3 separate regions of the Homo sapiens genome follow, and all the other regions are linked to region 3. Evidence: promoter capture Hi-C in human tissues and cell types (Jung and others, 2019). All regions are on one chromosome and are shown on one strand. Each heading gives the region's core, a stretch centred on a gene start or on the middle of the fragment in contact. The rest is flanking DNA. Distances are from core to core; before and after follow the strand shown.

What was found. Contacts are between HindIII fragments. The study calls those that stand out against the background at their distance.
Region 1: a contact is called between a fragment that was not itself captured here and the fragment with the promoter of OR2G2 in region 3, in 2 of the 25 tissues and cell types used here (mesendoderm cells and thymus).
Region 2: a contact is called between a fragment that was not itself captured here and the fragment with the promoter of OR2G2 in region 3, in 4 of the 25 tissues and cell types used here (liver, small bowel, stomach and 1 more).

Annotation. Positions count from the first base shown.
Region 1 is chr1:247,552,262-247,554,961 of GRCh38, reverse strand. The region is part of intron 1 of GCSAML (germinal center associated signaling and motility like); the gene reads right to left. Among named protein-coding and RNA genes, the nearest start is that of GCSAML, 4.5 kb to the right of the region's middle. The HindIII fragment of the contact is 9,997 bases long and covers 1-2,700 here.
Region 2 is chr1:247,624,130-247,626,829 of GRCh38, reverse strand. All of the region lies in intron 2 of LOC102724446 (a long non-coding RNA gene), which reads left to right. Among named protein-coding and RNA genes, the nearest start is that of OR14L1, 8.3 kb to the right of the region's middle. The HindIII fragment of the contact is 5,542 bases long and covers 1-2,700 here.
Region 3 is chr1:247,587,019-247,589,718 of GRCh38, reverse strand. OR2G2 (olfactory receptor family 2 subfamily G member 2) reads right to left here and starts at 1,359. Exons shown (of 1, transcript NM_001001915.1): 1 at 406-1,359. The coding sequence starts at 1,359. The coding sequence ends at 406. All of the region lies in intron 2 of LOC102724446 (a long non-coding RNA gene), which reads left to right. The HindIII fragment of the contact is 12,436 bases long and covers 1-2,700 here.

The DNA.
Region 1 (2,700 bases), core at 142-2,641, 35 kb after region 3:
TGTTTTCAAAAATAGGTATTTTATTAAGCTTTAGATGTATCTTGGCCAAAGAATTAAGATTATGAATAATTTTTTATACCTTCTGTGTTTTTTCTTCTTATTTTTAAACTTTCTAAATGTTGGATGTTGACTTATGACTTCATAACTCTACAAAGAAAGTCTTAGTAAACATCCCCCAAAATCAACAATTTGCACATGATTTCTCCAACTATCAAGCAGTAAAATTAAAACCCAATAAGCTATAACCAAAAGTGTACCTGTCTAGGCACAAGTAATATTCTAAATAATCCTTATGTTAAAGAGGGAATCATAAAGGAACTTTCTAAAAACACAGAATAAAATAATAATGCAAGCTACACAAGACTATTTGAAGGATAAAGTGAAGTGTGAAGAAAATAGCTTGCTAAAATACATTCATAAGAAAACATAAATGACTAATAATGACAAAGTAAGCATTTATCTTAAGAAGTTGGGAGAAGAAAAAGGAAACAAGAAAGTTGTGGGTAAAAATAAATATGATAGGGAACCAAATCTTAGAAAAGAATAATATCAGTAAGATAGCAAAAGTCTGGAAAGACCAACTAAAGAAATAAGGAATGGAGACAAAAATATAATGAAAACAGAAAGTTCAAAATAAGTATTACAGACATAAAACAGGCATGATGAAGAATTATGTATAATAAACATTATGGCTTAAAATGAATAATATCTTGGAAAAAATGAAATATAAAAACTGACACATGAATAACATCAATAACAAAAAAATCCAGCTTACACAGCTGCGTACACAATTTACCAAACTTCAAGTGACAAATATACTCTCTCATATATAAGATGTTCCAGAAAGTAGAGAAATGTAAAATGATGCCAACCCATTTAATGAGATTGGTAAACTTTCATTTCAAATTAAATAAATCAAATTTTTAAAAATCACAGGTCCAACTCGATCATGAAAATAGATGCAATAATCCTCAATAAAATATAAGTTAACTAAATCTAAAACTATAGTAAAATTGCACACATCACAATCAAATGGGTTTTATCCCAGAAATTAAAAGATAGGTAATTAGCAAAAATATTTATTAACATAATTAACTACTTTAGAAGCCTAAGAGAAGAATCATGAGGTTATCTCAATAGTTTAAAACTGCATTTGATAATGTTTGGTCCTTATTAACAATAAAAACCCTCAGAAGAGCTGGGTGCAGTGGTGCAGGCCTGTAATCCCAGCTCCTTGGGAGGCTGAGGCAGGAAGATCACTTGAGGCCAGGAGTTCAAAGCTGTAGTGCACTCTGATTGCATCTGTGAATAGCCACTGCACTCCAGACCGGGCAACATAGTGAAATCTCATCTCTACATATTTTTTTAAAAAGTAGAATCTCCTTATTTTGATAGAGGCAATATGCCAAAAACATAAATGCCAAATATAAATGTCAAAAATATACAGCAACCTTGATGAAAACAATTTAGAAAAAAATTATTATGATCAGTTACAAGAAAATGATGCCTAAGAATTCTGACATAACTATGCTATAAAACATGATAAAGGTACCTATAAGACTTGTAAGGAACAAAAAAAGAATAGAAAAATCTTTAACTTTATAGATGATATATTAACTATGTAAACCCAGTAGGATTAAAAAACCATGAAAAAAAATGAGAAATTCAACAAGGCTAGTGGATACAAAGTCATCTTGCAAAATTCAATAGCATTCCAACAATAACAGGCTAGGAAAAAATGTCATTCATAGATTTATTACTGTTGCATATGGTATCTAGAAATCTATCTAACAAAGAATAAAATAAAAACAAAAAATTAAAGCTCTATCAGAATGCATTAAAGAAGATTTGAATAAAGATAATTATAAATAATTGTTTTGATTGGTGTATTAATAGTATATCTGCATAGACCAGGCGCAGTGGCTCACGCCTGTAATCCCAGCACTTTAGGAGGCCGAGGCAGGTAGATCACAAGGTCAGGAGTTCAAGACCAGCCTGGCCAATATGGTGAAACCCCGTCTCCACTAAAAATACAAAACTTAGACGGGCATGGTGGTGCGTGCCTGTAGTCCCAGCTACTCGGTAGGCTGAGGCAGAAGAATCGCTTGAACCTGGAAGGTGGAGGTTGCAGTGAGCCGAGATCATGCCACTGCCCTCCAGCCTGGGTGACAGAGCAAGACTCCATCTCAAAATATATATACATATAGTACATCTGCATAAACATAGAAGAATTTGCAAATAGATCTCTATATTCACAATGTTGTCTGAATCCAAATTCAAGCTGGCACTTTTTATATAATACACAAATTCAGAATTTGTGTACAAATTTATATGGGAGGATAAAGTCTTCAAAGAACTAAATCAATTTTGAAATAAAGACTAAAGAGGGTATGTGATGGACACTGCCCATGGGCGATGTCTACATTTACTTCACCCTCTTGCTAGTCAGGGGCTAGAAAGCAGCAGCTACCTTCCCCAGACTCATCTGCAGCCAATTATCAGGCTGCAAATTAGGCACTGCCCAAGGTAACAGGCCTCTGACAAGCAGGGTCAGAGCAACAGGAGGCTCTCTGCATCCGTGTTCTAGAGGCCATTCTCCAGCCTTCTCTCACACCACATCTGTGATCCCAATGACTGACACACACCAAGGTGACTCCTTGGGAATGCATTTACTTTCACTGAATTTCCTCTTCATTTTGG
Region 2 (2,700 bases), core at 106-2,605, 37 kb before region 3:
AGAGATAGGAGTAGAAAGTTTATTCAAAGGTGTAATAACATAGAATTTCCCAAACCTATATCATTATTCAAGTACAAGGTTATAGAACACCAATCAGATTTAGCCCAAATAAGACTACCTCAAGGTATTTAATAAACTTCCGAAGGTCAAAATAAAGTATCCTAAAAGCAGCAAGAGACAAGAAACAAATAACATACCATGAAGCTCAAATACATCTAGGAACTGACTTTTCAACAGAAAGCTTACAGACCAGGAGAATGGTATGACATGTTTACAGTGCAGAAGGAAAAATACTTTTATTCTGGAATACCATATCCAGGGAAAATATTAGTTAAATATGAAGAAGAATTGAAGACTTTCCAGAAAAACAAGAGCTGGCGAATTTCATCAACACCAGACCAGACAATAACTACAAATAAAATAAAATACCAAGGAATTAACCACAGAAGTGAATGATTTCTACAATGAAAACTATAAAACGCTGATGCAATAAATTGGAGAAGACACAAAATACTGGAAAGATGTTTCACGTTCATGGATTAGGAGAATAAATATTGTTAAAATGTCCACTCTATCTAAAGTAATATACAGATTCAATTCAATCCTTATCAAAATACCAATGACATTTTTCACAGAAATAGGAAAAAAAGTCCTAAAATCTATGTGGAACCACAAAAGACCCAGAATAGCAAAGATTTATTAAGTAAAAAGAACAAAACTGGAGGAATCACATTATTTGACTTTAAGTTATACTACAGAGCTTTAGTAATCAAAACGGCATGGTTCTGGTATAAAAACAGACACATAGATCAGTGGAACAGAATAGAGAACCCAGAGATAAATCTATACATCTACAGTGAACTCAATTTTGACAAAGGTGCCAAGATCATACATTAGGGAAAGAACACCATTTTCAATAAGTGGTGCTGGGAAAACTGGATATTCGTATGCAGAAGAATAAAACTAGACCCCTTTCTCTCACCATATAGAAAACTCAAATCAAAATGGATTAAAGACTTAAATGTAAGACCTCAAACTATGAAAATACTAAAAGAAAACATTGGAGAATGCTCTCAGACATTGGACTGGTTGAAGATTTATTGACTAATACCTCAAAAGCACAGGCAACCAAAGCAAAAATGGACAAATGATCACATCAAGTTAAAAATCTCTGGCACAGCAAAGGAAACAATCAACAAAGTGAAGACAAAACCCATAGACTGAGAGAAAATATTTGAAAACTACCCATCTGACAGAATATATAAAGAGCACAAATAACTCTCTAGGGACAAATCTAATAATCTGATTTAAACATGGGCAAAAGATCTGAATAGGCATTTCTCAAAAGAAGACATAAAAATGGCAAACAGGTATATGAAAAGGTCCTCAATATCACTGATTGTCAGAGAAATACAAATCAAAACTACAATGAGATATCACCTCACCCCAGATAAAATGGTTTTTATCCAAAAGTCAGTCAGGCTATAACAAATGCTGGCAAGGATGTGAAGCAAAGAGAACCCTTGTACACTGTGGGTTAGAATGTAAATTAGTAGAATCACTATGGACAACAGTTTGACAGTTCCTCAAAAAATTAAAAATAGAGTTACCATACAATCCTGCAATCCCACTCCTAGGTACGTACACAAAAGAAAGGAAATTAGTGTATTGAAAAGGTGCCTGCACTACAATGTTTGCTACAGCTCTGCTCACAATAGTTACACAATGGAAGCAACACAAGTGTCCAACAACAGATGAATGGATAAAGAAAATTTGGTAACTATACACAATGGGGTTCTAGTCAACCATAAGAAGAATGAAATCCTGTCATTTGCAACAACATGGATGAAACTGGAGTTCATCATTTTAAGCAAAATGAGCCAAGCACAAAAAGACAAACTTCACATGTTCTCATTTATTTGTGGAAGCTAAAAATTAAAATAATCAAACTCTTGGAGCTAGAGAGTAGAAGCATGGTCTGGTAAGGGTAGTTGGGGGAAGTGGGGAGGAAATAGTGATGGTTGATGGGTACAAAAATAGAAATAATTATTAGGACTTAGTGTTTGTTAACACAACAGAATGACTGTAGTCAAAAATAATTTAATCATACATTTTAAAACTACTAACATATTATAACTGGATTGTTTGTAACACAAAAGATAAATGCTTCAGGTCATGGATACCCCATTTACCCTGATGTGATTACTATTTATTGCATGCCTTTATCAAGATATCTCATGTATCTCATATATATACACCTACTATATACCCATAAAAATAAAAATTAAATCAAAAATTTAAAAAACTGGAATCCAATACTACTTCATTCTCTATCCTCTTACCTTTCTCTATGCTTCTTCATTTAACTACAATTCCAGACAATAAATTATGCATTATTTGAATTGGTTTATTTATTATTTCATCAGTGGAAAAAATTGTTTCTTCTCTCTGCTACGGTAACTTTCTCCCTGATTAGCTTAGTGCACAGTTATCAATCAATAAATATCTATGAATGAACATATCCATTTAGTATAAATACATTCACTTTGACTCTGAGTCATAGTGCACACACACACACACCCAAGCACGCACACACGTGCTACTTCGACAGAAAATAATCAAATATATTTACAAAGTAATTATAAGTTGTAAAGCTAATACAGTTATGGTTTTTTCATCTGAGGAAGAAAATTCAAGACA
Region 3 (2,700 bases), core at 110-2,609:
AGATTAATGCGTTATTAGCAACCAAAAAAAAAAGCTGGCTGACATAAACATTTCTTGAATATGTTCATGCCTATCTTAATCCAGTAAAGTATTTATTTAAAAGTAGTTTCAAATGTACTACACAAATGATATATTCTGCAGCAAAGGCACTGAAGCATAGATTGACTAAAGGACTCACCTTATACTGCTACTGGGTAATGGCCAAGTTGCGACTTTATAGACATATGTTTCATGTATGTATGTAGACATATATTCCATAGTATTTTACATAATGCAAAATGTCGTACAAATATTTAATCAAAAGAAAATGTGAGAAGAGCCCATAAAAAATCCTCTTATTAAAAGATGCTACTTTTTACCAAAAAAAAAATTCATCACAGTGTCACTTAAATTTTTTTTTAATAATCATAAAATATTTACTCCCAGAGCCTTTGCTAGAACTTTCTTTAATGCCCCTTTCACCTCCTTGATCCTCAAGGTATAAATAAGAGGGTTAAGCATGCGGGTTACCACAGTGTAGAAGAGAGAAACAAACTTGCCCTGGTCCCTGGATCTACTCTTGGCTGGCTGCAGATACATGAAGATGATGGTTCCATAAAAGATGGTGACCACTGTCAGGTGGGAGAAGCAGGTCCCGAATGCTTTCTGTCTCCTGGTAGCTGACTTAATCCTCAACACTGCGTGGGCAATGTAGCCAGAGGAGACCAGGATGAATGAGACAGGCACTATAAGGAAAAGGATACTAGCCACAAAAAGCTCAGCCTCGTTAAACGTGGTGCCCACACAAGCCAGCTTGATGAGCACAGGGACCTCGCAGATGAAATGATCCACTTGGCGATGCCCACAGAAGGGCAGCTGCAGGGTGAGGGTGGACTGTACCAGGGTGGTGGCTATTCCACTGAGCCATGCCATAGATGCCAAGGCCATGCAGAGATGGATATGCATTAAGACAGTGTAATGGAGAGGACGGCAGACAGCCACATAGCGGTCACAGGACATCACAGCCGGGAGGACGCACTCAGTGGATCCCAGGGCATGGGAGTTGTAAAGGTGAACCAAACAGCCACCATAGGCGATAGTTTTCATGGGTTCCCACAGGTTTACCAGGAGCTGGGGAATAACACTGCTGGTGAAGCAGCGGTACAGGAAGGAGAGATGAGAAAGGAAGAAATACATCGGCATATGAAGCTTGGGTTCCAGACGAGAAACCAGAATGATGGTGGTATTCCCCAAAATAGTTAGTAAATACAGAATCAATATGAGCACAAATAGAACCTTCTGTAACTGAGGATAATCAGAAAACCCTAAAAGGATGAAACCTGCTAGGTTGCTCTCATTGGTATGTCTCACCATCCCCATATGTAAAGTGTGTTCCCCAAGGCTGAGGCATAGCTGAGAAAGATAACACATCACATAGGGTTAAATGAGTGACAATGTCACCTGCCTACCCAAAAAAGTATTGTATGTTAAATGCTTAGAAGCTATGTCTTTACATCCAGTGACTTAGATCTATTTATTTTCCGAATATGTGCATTATAAATAAATGCAATACACATCCTTCAAATATCTTAGCTGTTCTTCAATGCTTTCCGAAGCAGAGAAGAGCAAGAGCAGACATTAGGAAACATCATCATCTTTTGCAGGAAATAAATTTGACCCTTCCTTTAAAATAAATTTCCCCTTTTATATTAATGTATTTCAAGTTACAGAAAAAGGGAGTCTCGAGATACCATCTCACACCAGTTAGAATGGCGATCATTGAAAGTCAGGAAACAACAGGTGCTGGAAAGGATGTGGAGAAATAGGAACACTTTTACACTGTTGGTGGGACTGTAAACTAGTTCAACCATTGTGGAAGTTGGTGTGGCGATTCCTCAGGGATCTAGAACTAGAAATACCATCTGACCCAGCCATCCCATTACAGGGTATATACCCAAAGGATTATAAATCATGCTGCTATAAAGACACATGCACACGTATGTTTATTGGGGCACTATTCACAATAGCAAAGACTTGGAACCAACCCAAATGTCCAACAATGTTAGACTGGATTAAGAAAATGTGGCACATAGACACCATGGAATACTATGCAGCCATAAAAAAGGATGAGTTCATGTCCTTTGTAGGGACGTGGATGAAGCTGGAAATCATCATTCTCAGCAAACTATCTCAAGGACAAAAAACCAAACACCGCATATTCCCACTCATAGGTGGGAATTGAACAATGAGAACACATGGACACAGGAAGGGGAACATCACACACCGGGGACTGTTGTGGGGTGGGGGGACGGGGGAGGGATAGCATTAGGAGATATACCTAACGCTAAGTGACGAGTTAATGGGTGCAGCACACCAACATGACACATGTATACAAATGTAACGAACCTGCACATTGTGCACATGTACCCTAAAACTTAAAGTATAATAATAATTAAAAAAAGAAAAAGGTTTTAATAATCACAAGACCTATTTGTGTACATTGGAAAGGAATCAAAATTTTAAAAATGGGTATTAAATATGTCACTCCATCAGTTACTAACAGTGATAAAAAAAAAAAAAGAACTAATGTGCAGCCTAAATTACTTCTCAAATACTGGATCCCTAAAAGGCTAAAAGAAAATAGTTTATGAAGAAAAGGGCAAAGAAGAAAGAACAACAATGGCACTTAAATAATAAAAGAAATCCCAGCGACTTGGGAGG